Regions from separate parts of the Homo sapiens genome. Here all the other regions are linked to region 6. The links are contacts of gene promoters, found by promoter capture Hi-C in blood cells and fetal thymus (Javierre and others, 2016). All regions are on one chromosome and are shown on one strand. Each heading gives the region's core, a stretch centred on a gene start or on the middle of the fragment in contact. The rest is flanking DNA. Distances are from core to core; before and after follow the strand shown. Region 1 has its middle 4.9 kb from the start of RRP12. Region 2 has its middle 19 kb from the start of CRTAC1. Region 3 holds the start of FRAT1 (FRAT regulator of Wnt signaling pathway 1). Region 4 overlaps ARHGAP19 (Rho GTPase activating protein 19). Region 5 holds the start of EXOSC1 (exosome component 1). Region 6 holds the start of ZFYVE27 (zinc finger FYVE-type containing 27).

Region 1 (2,700 bases), core at 25-2,524, 330 kb after region 6:
CATACCAGGCTGACGATTTAGCCAGGGCTGTATTCAGTTACGACGCAGACTCGGTTTGGAGGCCAGCAGGTTTCTGTAGCCCAGGAAAAGGATGGGACATCTGCCACTACCCTTGGCCTCTGCATCTCCGCATCTGATTTGCAAAATCCCAGTCTACTAGTTGGTATTGCAGGCTCTCTATAGGGTTTTAGCCCTAACAGGTTGTTGGTAGCACTCCCTCTGGTGGCAAAGATGCACCACTGACCCCTCTGTAAAGCACAATACTACACATGTTTTGGAGTTGTCCGTAATTTGACACAGATACACAGTTTCTTTTATTTTTATTTATTTATTTATTTATTTTTGAGACGAAGTCGCACTCTGTTGCCCAGGCTGGGGTACAGTGGCACGATTTTGGCTCACTGCAACCTCTGCCTCCCGGGTTCAAACGATTCTCCTGCCTCAGCCCCCCAAGTAGCTGGGATTACAGGCGTGCACCATAACGCCTGGTTAATTTTTGTATTTTTAGTAGAGACGGGGTTTCGCTATGTTGGCCAGGCTGGTCTCGAACTCCTGACCTCAGGTGATCCACCTGCCTCGGCCTCCCAAAGTACTGGGATTACAGATGTAAGCTACCATGCCCAGCCACAGATACACAGTTTCATACTGAATCCTCACAGCAGCCCAGTGGGTTCAGAATTATTATCACAACTTTCAGCCAGGCACAGTGGTTCACACCTGGAATCCCAGCACTTTGGGAGGCCAAGGTGGGTGGATCACTTGAGGTCAGGAGTTTGAGAACAGCCTGGCCAACATGATGAAACCCCATCTCTACTAAAATTACAAAAAGTCATCTGGGCGTGGTGGCACATGCTTGTAATCCCAGCTACTTGGGAGCCTGAGGCAGGAGAATCGCTTGAACCCAGGCGGTGGAGGTTGCAGTGAGTCAAGATCGCGCCTCCGCACTCCAGCCTGAGCAATAGAGTGAGACTCCATCTCAGAAAAAAAAAAAGTAATTATTATCGTAACTTTAAATAATATGACACATTAGAATGTGTAAAAAAAATGTATAAATAAATAAATAAAGGGAAAAAAAGAACAAGAATCGGAGACTTAGAGAGGTTAAATCCCTTGCTTGGTTTATAGGTAAAGTATGTCCTGTCTTGAACCCACCACTTTACCTGCCTTCTTTCAGCAATTACCCCAAGTCTAGACCTCTGGTTGTGAGCACAGCTCGCTTATAACAGTTTCCACATTCTGCTTCCTTTTCCTCCCCCAGCCACCAGTTCCCTTTTCTCAGCCTTCCCACTGAGGTCTCAGCCTGTGACCCAGGCACAGGGCCCCACTGGAGGATGATAATGTCTTCAGAGACTTGGAAGGGCTGGGGCCTAGAGTCTGAACTGACTTCAGTCTTCTCTGCAGCGACGCTTTCTCACATTAACACACTTTATGCTCTCTCTGCTCTAGGTGAGAGGACCACTTTTTTTTGTTGTTTTTTGAGACAGAGTCTCACTCTGTCACCCAGGCTAGAGTGCAGTGGCTTAATCTCGAGTCACTGCAACCTCCGCCTCCCGGGTTCAAGCGATCCTCCCACCTCAGCCTCCGAGTAGCTGGGACTACAGGTGTCTGCCATCATGCCTGGCTAATTGTCATATTTTTTGTAGAGACGGGGTTTCACCATATTGCTCAGGCTGGTCTCGAACTCCTGGGCTCAAGTTATCTGCCTGCCTCAGCCACCCAGAGTGTTGGCATTACAGGCGTAAGCCACCGCCCCCGGCCCACTTTGTATTTTCAGTAAGCCCATGAAGTGTAATATACATGTAAGCAGGGCATGGTGGCTCACGCCTATAATCCCAGCACTTTGGGAGGCCAAGGCGAGCAGATCACTTGAAGCCAGGAGATCGAGATTTGTCTGGGCAACGATAGCAAGATTCTGTCTCTTTTTTTTTTTTTTGGAGAAGGAGTCTCGTTCTGCTGCCCAGGCTGGAGTGCAGTGGTACGATCTCAGCTCATTGCAACTTCCGCCTCCTGGGTTCACGCCATTCTCCTGCCTCAGCCTCCCGAGTAGCTGGGACTACAGGTGCCCGCCACCACGCCCAGCTAATTTTTTATATTTTTAGTAGAGACAGGGTTTCATTGTGTTAGCCAGGATGGTCTCGATCTCCTGACCTTGTGATCTGCCCGCCTCGGCCTCCCAGAGTGCTGAGATTACAGGCGTGAGCCACCGCGCCTGGCCAAGACTCTGTCTCTTAAAAAAAAAATTAGCTTGGTGTGGTGGGTATGTGTCTGTAGCCCCAGCTATTTGGGAGGCCAAAGCAGGAGGATGACTTGAATTCAGGAGTTTAAGGTTATAGTGAGCCATGATCATGCCACTGGACTCCAGCCTGGGTGACAGAGTGAGGCCCTAGCTTTAAAAAAAAAAAAAAATTAGCCAGGCATGGCAATGCATGCCTGTGGTTCCAGCTACTCGGGAGGCAGAAGTGGGAGGATTGCTTGAGCCTGGAGGTCAAGGCTGCAGTGAGCCATGATTGTGCCACTGCATTTCAACCTGAGTGACAGAGGAAGACTCTGTCTCAAAATAAATAAATAAATAATTAAATCATAAATAAATGGGATTATAACTATGTACTCTTGTGTCTGGAGTCTTTTACTCAACCTAGGTCATGCATGATATATGTAGCAGTAGTTCCTTCTCATTGCTATACAGAGTCAAATACTATA
Region 2 (2,700 bases), core at 103-2,602, 310 kb before region 6:
ATTCTGTGTATGCGTTATTCACTTTTAAGCTACCTCATTCCCAAAGTGGGATGTTTTTGCCCTTAGACATATACAGTGCTTTACAGATACAAAGCATTTTCACAAACACATCTGCCCCACGACTTGAGCAAGTTCTTCTCTAGCCAAACTCAAGCCTGGCCGATTTTACTCTGAAGGCCAGTGTGGACTCAGCCAGCTGAAGGGAGTCCTCTCCTGCCAAGGCCCATGGCCCTCAGGAACCCTGGCTCCCTCACTGTGAGCCAAGTGGATGCCCAAAGCTCCACCCCTGGAGCTTCTGATTCCTGTGAGCTGGGGCGAGGCCTGGGCTTTGGCAGGGTTCAGAAACTTTCCAGGGGATTCTGAGAACGGACAGTGTGCAAAGTGCCCAACAATAGCTCTACCGGCTGCTGCTTAGGTCAATTTGCTGTAAGTTTTCATTTTGGTACAATGTTAATCTTACAGAAAACTTTCAAGAACTGTACAAAAGAACTCTTGTATTCCCTTTACACCAATCCACCAATGGTTCTCATCTTAACCATTTGCTTAATAATTTTCTTGTGTTTATTTTTATCTAAAAAAAAACATGAAGTAAGCTTTCCTAGTGGGTATGATACAGACTGATAGCAGGACATATATAATATATATTATATAACAAATGCATACATATATTGGGAGACATCCATATATTTGGTGCCCAGCGAATGCACATTGACAGAGATGTGCCACCATAACCTTTGGTGGCAAATTTCATGATCATTTGGAGATGGAGATAAAGGAGGATTGACTGGGACGAGGGACAGAAAAGAAGTTTTGGGGGTGATGAAAACATTCTATATCCCGATTGCGGTTGTGGTTACACAAATGCATACATTTACCAAAACTAATTTGTCTGAATGTACAATTACAATAGGTACATATTATTACATATGATTGCATATAATTTATAATTTGATAAAGTTGATTTTTTAAAAATGTAACTTTTTTTGAAGTGTAGTGGCTTGTTCTAAAGAATCCAGCAGAGGAAAACTGATGCCTGAGGAAGTATGGATTTTATGCCCTGAATTATCATACATTTGTATGGCATTTATTATATGTCAGGCTCTGTTCTAAGCATTTTGCAAGAACGAACTCATGTAATTCTCACAAGCCTATGGTGTAAAGGCATCACAGGCCCCACTTTAGAGATCAGGAAGAGAGGTTAGCTATTGGCCCAAGGTGGCACAGCCAGGAAGTAGAACAACATGACTCTAAACCCTAGCAGGGAGGCACCAGTGCCCCTGCTCTCAGGCACTATGCTAAGTTAGTTCTTTCCATGATAGCCAGAGACCAGGCTCTGCCTTACCGTGCACCACTGCCCCATGGCAGAAGAGCCCCCTGAACTCCAGGGACCAGCCAGTGGACAGAGGGAAGCTGACTGTCCTTGAGGCCTCGCTGTTGAGTACCCAGACCACCAGACTCTCCTCTGCTTCCTGCTTCCCTCCATCCTTGACTCACCAGCTCTGCCAGTCCATCTCTGGAGCTTTCCAACTGCCCAATTTTAGGAGGCATCCAGAGGTGCCATATAGCCTCGCACTGGAAACAGAGTTGGTTGTCTGAACCACTCTGTCTGTCCCTGAGAGATATTAACAGAAAATAAATATCAGCATGTGACATCCTGAAGTTCTGTGTTCCCGGGAGCCAGTACTGGTTTCCTCATATTCCATGTGCTTCCTGTAAGTCAGGGGTCTGTGGCGGGAGAGCACGGAACCAGATCTCAGGCATGGACTTTGCTACTGATTTGCTGTGAGATGTAGGGCTTCTCTTCCCTTCTCTGAGTCTCAGATTTCTCACCCCAAATAATGGGAGGTTAGCCCAGATGTGAGGTTCTTGGCCTGTGGATTGCTAGGAAGTCCACAAATAGGCTTCAAATGTTCTAGGAATCCCCAGCATTTGTATGCATAGTGTTTTGTGTATTTAGATAAAGGAGTCCATATCTCATTTGATTTTCAAAGGGATCACTTTCCCTCTAAAATTTCACATCACTTGCCTGCCAAAGTCTTTTCTAGTTCTAAAATTTGAAGACTTTATGTCTTAATCTAAGTCTTTGCATTGCATATCAGCCTGGAAGCTTCATTTACAGAGAATGGCAAAGGAGACCCAAGGCATCAGTGTTAGAGTCAGAGCTAGCACGTGGTGTCTCCTGACTTATTCATTTATTCAGCATATATCCATTGTAATAAGCATATTTCATTCGAATGATAACTTTTGACCATAGTCCCACATGTGCCAAGAGCCTCTACAATGACCCAGGGCCTAACACAGGACCTAGTGCATAGTAGGAACTCTATAAATATTTGATGAATAAAATAATAATTAGGGTGAGGGCCTTAGGCCTGTAATCCTACCATTTTGGGAGGCTGAGGTGGGCAGATCACTTGAGCCTGGGAGTTTGAGACCAGACTGGCCAACATGGTGAAGCTCCCTCTCTACAAAAAGTCCAAAAAAAAAAAAATAGCTGGGCATGGTGGTGCATGCCTGTAGTCCCAGCTACTCAGGAGGCTGAGATGGGAGGATCACCTGAGCCCAGGCAGGTCAAGGCTGCAGTGAGCTGTGATCACGCCACTGCACTCCAGCAAAGGTGACAGAGCAAGACCATGTCTCAAATAATAAAAATGATGAATTGGGAAGCCAACTAATTGTGGGAGTGGAAATAGAGGAGGA
Region 3 (2,756 bases), core at 141-2,640, 420 kb after region 6:
GCGATCCGGAGAAGCGTGGATTGTGGCCACATGGTCGCGGGGCTGGAGGGCACTGAGAGGCTGCGAGGAAATGCAGGCTCCGCGGCCAGGTCGGGTCACGCCAAATAAGGAGTCCTACTGACTTGTACGTTTGAGGTGCGCTCTGTAAAATCTGCCTTAAATAGGGCCAAAGTCCTTCATTCCAAATATTTTGGCCCTCAACCCCAGTTACCCGCGAAACACTCGCGATTTTTCGGTTCCTCGTCATTAGCTTTTTACTCTCGCTTCCAAAAGCCAGAGTTCTCCACCAGCCTGAGTAGAACTGCAGCCCTCAAGGGAACCCCTTGCCCTCCAGTCTGAGGCTGGCGCTGTGGCCACCCCGGGCGTGTTAGCTGCCAGGCACAAGAACGCCGTCGCCAGTTCTGAGCTGCGCCCTCCCGGAGGCGCCAGGGTCACTGCAGGCCGCGCGAGGGCTGCGAGGCGAAGGGGGTTCATGCACCGGGGCCGACAGAGGTCCCAGGAGCGGGCGTTGGGGAAGCTTTGCACGTAACTGCAGCCGTCGCGAATGAAGCCTTCGCACGGCCTCCTTGATGAGGTTTCCAGAGAGCACTAGCTGCTGCAGAAGCCGGTGCGGGTCGTCGTCGCCTGTGCGGGTTTCTGGTTGGGACCCGCGTCGCTGCTGCAGGCGGCGGGAGGCGGCGGCGCCCCGGAGCCATCCTCGCCGGCACGGACCCGACAGCGGCTGCGGGATGCCCTGCTTGCCAGCTCCCGGAGGCCCATCAAGGTCGGCCTGAGGGGGCAGTGGGGACAGCGCGCTGGGGCCTGTGGCGAGCTCGGCCACGCAGTAGGGCGCAGCGCGGCCCCGCACGCGGCCGCGGTCCCCCAGGGCGCAGCGCAGGACCCCAGGGGGCGCCGGGCCCACAGTCTCCGCCAACGCGGGCGGCAGCAGCAGCGGCACCGCCGGGGACCTGGCCTTGTCCGCCGGCACCGCCGCAGCCAGGGGCCCCGGGGCCCGCAGCGGCGCCCCCGGGGGCCCGCACGGCGAGGCCGGGCTGTGCTGCGCCGCGTCCAGCTGCAGCGTCTCGCCGATCTGGGCCACCAGCCGGTCCACCTCGCCCGAGCTGCCCAGCGCCACTGACTGCTGCAGTAGGAGGAAGCTGTCCTCCTCCTCTTCCTCCCCCTCCGCCTCCTCGCCGGCTTCCTCTTCCTCCTCCCTCCGGCACGGCATGGCCCCCTGTCTGGGCACCCGGAGCTGTGCGGGCGTCGCTGGGGGCTCGGCTGCCGGCGGGCGCGGTGGGCCGCGGCGGAGCGGGCGCGGAGCTGAAGACTAAGTCTGGACCGGGGCCGGGGCGGACGCGGAAGCCGGAGCCCGCCAGGCACTCTAGCCGCGCGCCTGCAGCCGCGGGAGCCGGAATCCTGCCGGCTCGGGTTGATTTGTAAACAATGGGTGACGTCACGTCGGGCCCTACCACCGCGCCGGGGAGGGGGTGCTGTGCCGCTGGGGGACGGCGCTTCTGTGGGATTGGGGGTCTGGGTGAAGCCGGACTGCCTTCTGAGCTCCTTCGCTCAGGGTGCTGTCTGCAAGGGCGCCCTGGGGACCTGATCCTGGCTCCCGCAGTCGGGCGCGATTGGCATTTCCAGAAATGGGCACCAGCGTGAACCCTGTTGGTTTCTTCCACACACAAGCAAGCACGCACACTAACACACACCCACCCACCCACACACCCCTTCTCTCCGTGCGTCAACTCAACCGGTTTTTAGCGTTTGCGCTTTTGAGGTCCGGCATGCGGGCGTCTGGTGAGGATGGAAAGGAAAGGGAGTCAGGCTAGGGATTTGTACGGAGATTAGGGAAATGAAGCTGACGGGAATGGAAAGGAAGAAGGGGACCTTGTCGTTCGATGGAGGTGGCAGAGTTGGAAATGGCAAAGAAAGGCCACAGATTAATGTTTTTTGATCGAGATCCTGGGCGGATGGGGGCCTGGACTGGGGTTGGCATTGCTGGAGAGGAGGTTGCTAGTCTTTTTGTTTATTTGTTTGTTTGTTTTTTTGAGACGGAGTCTCGCTCTATCGCCCAGGCTGGAGTGCAGTGGCTCGATCTCCACTCACTACAACCTCCGCCTCCTGCGTTTAAGCAATTCTCCTGCCTCAGCCTTCCGAGTAGCTGGGATTACAGGCGCCCACCACCACGCCCGGCTAATTTTTGTATTTTTAGTAGAGACGGGGTTTCACCATGTTGGCCAGGCTGGTCTCGAACTCCTGACCTCAGGTGATCCACCCGCCTCAGCCTCCCAAAGTGCTGGGATTACAGGCGTGAGCCACTGCGCCCGGCCTAGGTTGCTACTCTTTTTGTTTTGTTTTGTTTTTTTGAGACAGAGTTTCGCTCTTGTTGCCCAGGCTGGAGTACAATGGCGCAATCTCCGCTCACCACAACTTCCGCCTCCTGGGTTCAAGCAGTTCTCCTGCCTCAGCCTCCCGAGTTGCTGGGATTACAGGCATGCGCCGCCATGCCCAGCCTAATTTTGTGTTTTTAGCAGAGATGGGGTTTCTCCATATTGGTCAGGCTGGTCTGGTACTCCCGACCTCAGGTGATCCACCTGCCTCGGCCTCCCAAAATCCTGGGATTACAAGCGTGAGCCACCACGCCTGGCTATAGGTTGTTAGTCTTAAGAGGGGCTATGTCCAGAAAGTTGTTTAAAAAAAAGCCTCAGACCAGTAGGGGGGATGGGCTCTGAGGAGGTACGTAGTAGCAGAGAAAAATACCTGTTTGGATGAAAATG
Region 4 (2,700 bases), core at 115-2,614, 450 kb after region 6:
AGCTGGGTGCAGTGGCATGCACCTGTAATCGCAGCTACTTGGGAGGCTGAGGTAGGAGAATCGCTTGAACCTGGGAGGCGGAGGTTGTGGTGAGCTAAGATCACACCATTGCACTCCAGCCTGGGCGACACAGCGAGACTCAGTCTCACAGGAAAAAAAAAAAAAAAAAAAAAGTATATGCTTTTTTTTCTTTCTTTCTTTTTTGTTAAGAGTATATAGTTTGGCTAAAAGTGGTGGCTCTCATCTGTAATCCTACCACTTTGGGAGGCTGAGGTGGTAGGATCACTTGAGCCCAGGAGTTTGAGACCAGCCTGGGCAACCTAGCAAGACATTGTCTCTACTAAAAATAAAAATAGTTAGCCAGGCGTGGTGGCACATGCCTCTGGTCTCAGCTGCTAGGAAGGCCGAGGCAGGAGGATTGCTTGAGCCTGGGAGGTCAAGGATGCACTGAACCGTGAGTATGCCACCATTCTAGCATGGGCAATAGAACAAGACCTTGCCTCAAAAAACCCCCAGTATATACTTTTTTCCCCTCTTCCCCACTATGAAATAAACTTATATAATATTTACTACAGAAGGCTAGAAAAATATGTAGAAAAAAATGGGGGCTGGTCTGAGTGTCTCACGCCTATAATCCCAGCACTTTGGGAGGCCAAGGTGGGCAGAACACTTGAGGTCAGTAGTTCGAGACCAGCCTGGCCAACATGGTGAAACCCTGTCTCTACTAAAAAGACAAAAATTAGCTGGGCATGGTGTCGCACATCTGTAATCCCAGCTACTTAAGAGGCTGAGGCAAGAGAATCGCTTGAACCTGGGAGGCAGAAGTTGCAGTGAGCCAAGATTGCACCACTGTACTCCAGCTTGGGCAACAGAGTGAGACAATGTCTCAAAAACAAAAAGCAAAAAATACAAATAAAAATAAGAGAAAAAAGCTAGGTGTGGTGGTGTGCACCTGTAGTCCCAGCTACTGGGGAGGATGAGGTGGGAAGATTGCTTGAACCTAGGAGCTTAAGGCTGCAGTGAGCTATGATGACACCACTGTGCTCCAGCCTGGGTGCCAGAGTGAGACCCTGTCTCTAAAAAAAAGAAAAAAAAAGGAAAGAAAAATATGTAGAAAAATGGTAAACTAGCCACTCCAATTTACCAGATAGATACAACCATTATTAATATTGAGACAGTTTTTTTTTTTTTTTTTTTAATAGAGATGAAGTTTCACTATGTTGTCTAGGCGGTCTCAAACTCTTGGGCTCATGTACTCCTCCCACCTTGGCAACCCAAAGTGCTGGGATTACAGGTGTGAGCCACCATGTCTGGTTCCTTCTGAGTCTTAAACTGTAATGCCTCTTATCTAAAATATGACCCATCCAAGATCTGATTTCTATCTTGGTTTCCCAGTTTCCTCCCAATAAGTGCATCATTTCTGGTTGGAAACAGTATAGCAAAAGAGTGATTGAAATACAATTTTTTTTTTTTTTGAGACAGAGTCTCACTCTGTTGCCCAGGCCGGAGTGCAGTGGCATGATCTCAGCTTGCTGCAGCCTCCGTCTCCTGGGTTCAAGCAGTTCTCCTGCCTCGGCCTCCCGAGTAGCTGGGACTACAGGCATGCGCCACCATGCTGGCTAATTTTTGTATTTTTAGTAGAGACGGGGTATCACCATGTTGGCCAGGTTGGTCTCGAACTCTTGACCTCATGATCCACCCACCTCAGCCTCCTGAAGATGCCCTCTGGTCACCTTCAGTGAACACTCTCACCTACACTTTTACTAACCATCTTTTAGGGTGGGTTGTTTCTACAGATGCTGGAGCCTATTTATTTTGTGCTGATGTTTTGCTACTGTTACCCGATATAAACTAAATTCAGCTAGGCCATAGAAACTACATAGTAACAGCCGGGCGGGTGGCTCACGCCTGTAATCCCAGCACTTTGGGAGGCTGAGGTGGGTGGATTGCCTGAGGTCAGGAGTTCAAGACCAGCCTGGCCAATATGGTGAAACCCCGTCTCTACTAAAAATACAAAAATTAGCCAGGCGTGGTGGCAGACGCCTGTAATCCCAGCTACTTGGGAGGCTGGGGCAGGAGAATCGCTTGAACCTGGGAGGTGGAGGTTGCAGTAAGCCGAGATCGCACCACTGCACTCCAGCCTGGGCGACCAGAGTGAGACTCTGTCTCAAAAAAAAAAAAAAAAAAAAGAAAAAAGAAACTACATAGTACTTTAAACAGAGAACATTTAATAGGTTATAAACTATAACTGGGGATTCGAGTAACAAGGAATTGGCTAGTAAGAAGTAAAGAGATCTCTAAGAAATATAGAAATAGATACAGGAATCAGCTGAGTTAGAATGTACAAGGAAGAGGGTCCCTAGGGCAGAGTTCCAGACCTTGCTGGAGATGGCATGGCCATGGCTGACTGATTGGCAGCCATTGCTCTGAAGGGGAAGATACAGAAGGGAGGGCTCAGATTCATACTGGGACAAACAGACTTACACATTCATATTTGTTAGGATTCTTCAGTTATATGTGATAGAAACTAAAACTAGCTTAAGCAAAAAGAGACTCTATTAATTGGCTCAAGAAACTGAAAAGTCCAGGGGATAAATCAAGTATGGTTTAATCTGTATGGAAAATCTCAAATCTCAGTGTTGTTAGATATCTACCTCTTTACTGTCTTAGATCTGGTTTCCTCTGTATTTGCTTCCTAAG
Region 5 (2,700 bases), core at 156-2,655, 290 kb after region 6:
GGCTTTAAGTCACATCTGTTTCCCAATGGGAAAGTCGACTGAGGGGACAGGGAAGGACAGACGGCAAAGCCATCAGAAGTCAGGTGAACTGAGATCAAAGTCGTGGCGAATGTCATCTGGACAAAGACGCTGCTCTCAGGATGTTTGCAATCTCAAGTAGGAGATACCCAACATCAATAAAGAGTAGCATTTTATTCATGTGCAGACCTCCCTTCTGGGCTAACACGCTGAGAAGAAAAAGAGTAACAACTTTATTTTGGGGCTGCTTATCTTTTGATGACGGGCCCACACAACCAGAGTTCGGCTTTTTCAACCAGAGAAAGCTTACTGAAGTGGGGATGAGGGGCCGCGAAGAGGATCGGACCGCAGGACTGGAAGCTGCAGTTTAAAAAACCGGGAAAAGGCCGGAGGCAGTGGCTCATGCCTGTACTCCCTGCACTTTGGAAGGCCGAGGCGGGCGGATCAAGAGATCAAGACCATCCTGGCTAACATGGTGAAACCCCGTCACTACTAAAACTACAAAAATTAGCTGGGCGTGGTGGCGCGCGCCTGTAAGTCCCAGCTGCGCGGGAGGCTGAGGCAGGAGAATCGCTTGATGCCGGGAGGCGGAGGTTGCAGTGAACAGAGATCGCTCCACTGCACTCCAGCCTGGCGACAGAGCGAGACTCCTCAAAAACAAAACAAAAAAACCGGGAAAAGGTTTTATTTCTCAATGACAGCCGCGAGGTGAAACTGCGATGGACTGGAAGTCAAAAACCGTGGGTTCCAGTTTGGGCTCTATCTTAACTATCTTGATCATTTTGGACAAGTCAAACCCTGTCTCTGAATCTGAGGTTCCATATCTGTGAAACAGACGAGTTGGGTCGCTTGACCTCCTTCCCTCCTGCTCTGAGCGTAACGATTGCTCGGAAGGTGCGCTCGGGCTGAGGAGGGCACGGCCCCGCAGGGCGGGGCGAGGAGAGAGCAGGAACCCGCACTCAAGACAAGGCCCCAGGGCAGTGCCCTACCCAGAAAAAGGGACTAGGATGGGGAGCAAGGGCCGAGGCTTCGCCCTTACCTGCCGCCTGCCGACTCCCCAGTCAGCCAAACCGAGCCCCGTAGCCTCTGCCGCCGCTCACTGCCACCCCCTCCGACTCGGCGCCCCGGCCGGGCCCGGCTCAATCCAAACCACCATGGCCCGCCGCCCGCAGCGCCAGGCAGCGGACCCGGACCCGCCGCCAGCCCATCCTCAACCACACGCGCAGGCGCCAGCGTGGACCTCTGAAGTTCCGCCCCCGGATTTGTCCCGGGGTAACCTGGGAAATGGAGTTTACTCGCAAGGATAAAGAGTACCAATTGACACGTGTCTTACTGCGGAACTGTGCCTGGGTTTGGCCAATGAGAAATCGACTTCGTTTTCATCCTGGTTTTGGGACAGCGGCAATCATGGCGCCACCTGTGAGATACTGCATCCCCGGTAAGTGAGCGCTTCCCGTACAGAGTCCTGGATAGGGGCTGAAGCAAGAAGGCTAAACGGCCTACAGCTTCTGGGGGCCCGTGACCGATGCAGCATTTTTTCTGCAGGCGAACGTCTGTGTAACTTGGAGGAGGGCAGCCCGGGCAGCGGCACCTACACCCGCCACGGCTACATCTTTTCGTCGCTTGCCGGCTGTCTGATGAAGAGCAGCGAGAATGGCGCGGTAAAGGAAGCGGCATGCCATCTCCCCTCTGTTTTTCCCTTAGGCTGCCCTTGAGTTCCAGTCCTTAGGCATGGGCACTGCGGACGCGTCTTTAGTGCCTCAGTGGTACAATGTTGGTCTCTTAGTTTCTTCTAGCCGTATCGCCGCTGTGGTGCACTTAGCCACCACACACTAGTTGTGTTGATCTCGCTTGGTTGTGCTGCTGACCCTCGGGGAGGGAAGTTGGGACAAAAGCAGATGCGAACTCAGTATCCCATCCCAGCCCAGCTCAGCCCAGCAGTGAGTTGCATACTGTATGAATGTTGCTTACCTTTCCGACTTTATCTAGCGCCACTATCTCCACCTCACTGACGCAATCTAGTCATACTGTCTTTTCTGTGTTTAAAAGTTATAATCACAGTCTCTGCTTGCCCTTTAAAAATTTTTTATAACATACTAGCTTCTTTCAGTGTCGGTAATGCGCCAAGCTTTCTCCTGCTACAGAGCCTTTGTAACATGCCATCTATCTGGAACGCTTCTATCTTCCTAGGCCTATTTAATTCCTACCTCCTTTAGATAGCTTCTCTACTATCACCTCAGAGAAGTCCTTCTGGACCCACTAATTGAGGAAAGGAGTTTTGTGGGGTGTTTTGTTTTTGTTTGTTTTGTTAAAGACTCACAAAAAACTCTGTTCCTTTTCTTCCAAGCACTATGTCAGCATATGATGAGACACTCAGGTATATGTTTCCTACTAGACTTCTCCCCTGCTTAAATCTAAGTCCGTGAAAGCAGGCCCTACCACCATACCATCCGTATATAGCACAAGGCAGCTCCTCAATAAATGTTGAATGTGTGAGTAATACCTACCTTTCTAGTTTCAGAGATAGATCCAGGATTAGCTCAGGATCATATAAGCAATATTTGAAGGAGCACAATAGAAAGAGGATTCAGAATTAGAACAGTTACGTTCTGGCTAACTTGACTTTGATTCTGCTTTGAGTAAGTAACTTAAGCTGTCTGATTCAAGGGGCTTTCTATTCAG
Region 6 (2,737 bases), core at 21-2,520:
CAACAGTAAACCTGTGAGCAAGGGAAAGTGAACTATTCAGACCTAAAATCCTGTTCTTTGTACTCTCCATCCAATGCTCTTTTCCCCAAAGATCCATCAAAACTAAAAATCATAAAAACCAAGCATAAATGATCGCTGCAGCGAGGCAGCCCATGGGCTGAAATGAAATGATGTCCTGGAACATTTTTCTCCCACTCTTTACCTGGTTAATTCCTACTCATCCTTCAGGTATCAGCTTAAACATCACTCCCTTACTCTGGGAAGTCTCTGCCAACACCCCCAACTCTGGACTGGGAGACCCTCTCCGATGCTCCCAAAGGATCACGTACTCACCCTAACAGAGCACTTATCACATCACATCGCTTCTTGGCCTTGTGGCTAAGATCAAGTGCAGAGCACTGACCACGTCAAAGTAAAACTCCCTGCTCTTAACTGGCCTCCATTCACGACTGCTTCTGTACACAGTGGGTGCTTAACAAATGCCTGCTGAATGAGTGAATGAAATACCGTGCTCCAGGACTCTCGCCCGATCCTCTAACTCTTCCCACTCCCTTCGGTTCCCAACAACTTCCTGGGCCATCTCTGCCCCAGGGCAGTCGGCATCAGAACGCCCCATTCCCGTCTGCCCTTTCTGATGAGGAAACCGAGGAGCCTTTACGGTCTTTCCCAGTTCAAAGTCCTATCCTGAACTCTAAGCAGCAAACGAGGGGGCGGAACCTCGGCGAAGAGCAACATAAACCAGTCCCAGGCAATCAGCCGCGACCTGATGGGAGGGTGAGGGGATGGGACAAAGGGGCCAACGGGACCCCGAAATCCCCGCAGGCCGAGCCAAGGCGAAAGGGCACAGAGCGGCGCCAGGTATGAGCCCAGGAAGGGGCGAGGTATATCGACGCCCGCACTGGCCTTGGCCAACACCTCTGCAGCCAGGGGGGCCTGATGGAGCCCGTGAGGCTGGACAGGGAAGGCCATGCCCGAGGTCGTGGGGCCAGCATGTGGCGGCCCCCGCTGCGCCCAAGCACCCAACTACACACAGCCTGCGGAGACACTGGGACGCGGGGGGACGGCACCTCACCTACCCGGCCGCTGGCTCCGTGAGGGAGGCGGCAGGGTCGGGCAGGAGCAGGGGTAGAGCCACTGGGCCCCGGAGCGTTTCTTCAGGCCTCCCCCGGCTGAACGCCGCTCCTCCTGCCAGGGTTGTTCGGAAGTCGCAGGTCCGAAAATCTCCTCCGCCTACGCCGCGGCCGCCACCGCCGCTTCCGGGACGCGAATCGCTCTGCGGCTGCGTCCTCATGACGTCATCCCGCTCCGGGTTTAGCTCCGCCCACCCCAGCACAGGCAAGCACCCTTGCCAGCAGTGCGCCTGCGCGTCTTTCCCGCGCGCTCCAGGCTGGAGTTAATTCTGTCCTTGGCCGGCCGCCGTTCACAAAGCCTTGAGGACCCTTGGAAGCACGTGCTTGGCGACCCTGCAGCTCGTTGCCCTGCCTTGCCGCAGGGAACAGTTGGCGAGAGGCTTAAATGAAGAATTTACGTCTTCATCCTCTTTCCTTCCAACTTTGGAACTGAACTGGGGACTGTGTGTGAGCCCCGGAAAGACACCGTATCCTGTATGAGATGCCCAGCAGAGCATGCAGTTGTTTCCGGAGTAGCTAGTGTGTACAAGGTCCTGTGCAGGCCTCTCCCAGCTCAGTTCACTTCACACCGTGTGGCCCAGTTAATTTCCCTTAAAGCACACATCCGATGGCTTTATATTAGTGACTTAGCGCTCAGGTACAGAGGAGCCAAGCACTGAACCGGACTGAGCTCTTTTTAGACATTATCTAGTTCTCCTCCAACGACCCTATTAGGGTTGTCGCCATTTTACAGATGGGGAATCTCAGACGTGTTAAGGAACTTCTTTAGAGTCACAGCTAAGAAGCAAATGGGAGCTGGAATTTGAAGCTTATGTGTCATCTGACCCCAACGCCCCAACCATACCACCACCCACCTTGGTCTGCATTTCCTGGTCTTGTCTCCTGCCATCTTTCAGCTGCCTTTAACTTTGGCCAACTGAACCCCTCCACTGTTACCCTCAAATGCCCCTGGCACTCAAATGTCTGTATCCCTTCCTTGAGTGCCCCAGCTGGAAGTAATCACTTCCCTCTTCAAGTAGCCACAGAGCTTTAACTGCATCTCTTCCTCCATTATCTCCTTTCAGAAAGACAGGCCCATCCCTCCAGCCAGGACTTAGCTGTGCTCCAGGGTCCAACTCTTATTTCCTTAGGGCTTTGCTCTAACAGGCCTGAAATCTTGACTCTCGCTAACTCTTAATCATCATTCTAGAGACAAAATTCATGGAAAATTTCTCCTTTAGCCTAACTTTACCCCCTCTTTCCTACATGAGTTGGAAGACTCACTGTGAAGTGCTCTCTACCGCTGCTTCCTCGCCCAATTCACTCCTCACTGCACTGTGGTCCTGCTCCCCTCCATATTTCTGGGCTACCTGCCTGCTCACCTGTGACATCCTGGCTGCTAAATCCAATGGACACTTCCCAGTCCTCCTTGCAGATGACCTCAGAAGCACTGGAATCTCTTTCCTTTTTGGCACCATTGTCCACCTTAGCTTCCATGACACCACCCTCTCCTCTCTTTCCGACCTTCAAGGTCTCCTTAGGGCTTTTCTTCCTACCCCTCAAATGCTGGGGCTCCTTTTGCTACCCTTCTTTCTTCTGACTCAAGGCACTCCGTGAGGATCTCATTC

What was found. Contacts are between HindIII fragments. The CHiCAGO score rates a contact against its expected background, and 5 or more counts as called.
Region 1: a fragment that was not itself captured here is called in contact with the fragment with the promoter of ZFYVE27 in region 6 in 3 of 17 cell types (naive CD4 T cells, naive CD8 T cells and non-activated CD4 T cells); the score reaches 7.1 in naive CD4 T cells.
Region 2: a contact is called between a fragment that was not itself captured here and the fragment with the promoter of ZFYVE27 in region 6, in 1 of 17 cell types (M2 macrophages). The highest score is 5.3, in M2 macrophages.
Region 3: a contact is called between the fragment with the promoter of FRAT1 here and the fragment with the promoter of ZFYVE27 in region 6, in 5 of 17 cell types (neutrophils, non-activated CD4 T cells, fetal thymus and 2 more). The highest score is 11.8, in neutrophils.
Region 4: a fragment that was not itself captured here is called in contact with the fragment with the promoter of ZFYVE27 in region 6 in 1 of 17 cell types (neutrophils); the score reaches 6.8 in neutrophils.
Region 5: a contact is called between the fragment with the promoter of EXOSC1 here and the fragment with the promoter of ZFYVE27 in region 6, in 3 of 17 cell types (neutrophils, naive CD4 T cells and naive CD8 T cells). The highest score is 6.3, in neutrophils.

The regions. Positions count from the first base shown.
Region 1 is chr10:97,404,850-97,407,549 of GRCh38, reverse strand. No RefSeq gene overlaps it. Among named protein-coding and RNA genes, the nearest start is that of RRP12, 4.9 kb to the right of the region's middle. The HindIII fragment of the contact is 7,850 bases long and covers 1-2,700 here.
Region 2 is chr10:98,048,014-98,050,713 of GRCh38, reverse strand. No RefSeq gene overlaps it. Among named protein-coding and RNA genes, the nearest start is that of CRTAC1, 19 kb to the right of the region's middle. The HindIII fragment of the contact is 1,514 bases long and covers 596-2,109 here.
Region 3 is chr10:97,317,905-97,320,660 of GRCh38, reverse strand. FRAT1 (FRAT regulator of Wnt signaling pathway 1) reads right to left here and starts at 1,390. Exons shown (of 1, transcript NM_005479.4): 1 at 1-1,390. The coding sequence starts at 1,207. The coding sequence ends at 368. RefSeq lists enhancers at 6-165, 1,255-1,549, 1,287-2,076 and silencers at 506-605, 1,106-1,415. The HindIII fragment of the contact is 4,234 bases long and covers 520-2,756 here.
Region 4 is chr10:97,282,329-97,285,028 of GRCh38, reverse strand. The region is part of intron 1 of ARHGAP19 (Rho GTPase activating protein 19); the gene reads left to right. All of the region lies in intron 1 of ARHGAP19-SLIT1 (ARHGAP19-SLIT1 readthrough (NMD candidate)), which reads left to right. Among named protein-coding and RNA genes, the nearest start is that of ARHGAP19, 9.0 kb to the left of the region's middle. The HindIII fragment of the contact is 3,036 bases long and covers 1-2,700 here.
Region 5 is chr10:97,444,711-97,447,410 of GRCh38, reverse strand. It overlaps EXOSC1 (exosome component 1), which reads left to right and starts at 1,405. Exons shown (of 8, transcript NM_016046.5): 1 at 1,405-1,456; 2 at 1,564-1,679. The coding sequence starts at 1,426. ZDHHC16 (zDHHC palmitoyltransferase 16) reads right to left here and starts at 1,236. Exons shown (of 12, transcript NM_198046.3): 1 at 1,058-1,236. RefSeq lists a silencer at 975-1,184 and enhancers at 1,116-1,695, 1,696-2,276. The HindIII fragment of the contact is 1,823 bases long and covers 326-2,148 here.
Region 6 is chr10:97,735,661-97,738,397 of GRCh38, reverse strand. It overlaps ZFYVE27 (zinc finger FYVE-type containing 27), which reads right to left and starts at 1,270. Exons shown (of 13, transcript NM_001385875.1): 1 at 1,077-1,270. RefSeq lists a silencer at 1,005-1,074 and an enhancer at 1,405-1,554. The HindIII fragment of the contact is 3,622 bases long and covers 1-1,940 here.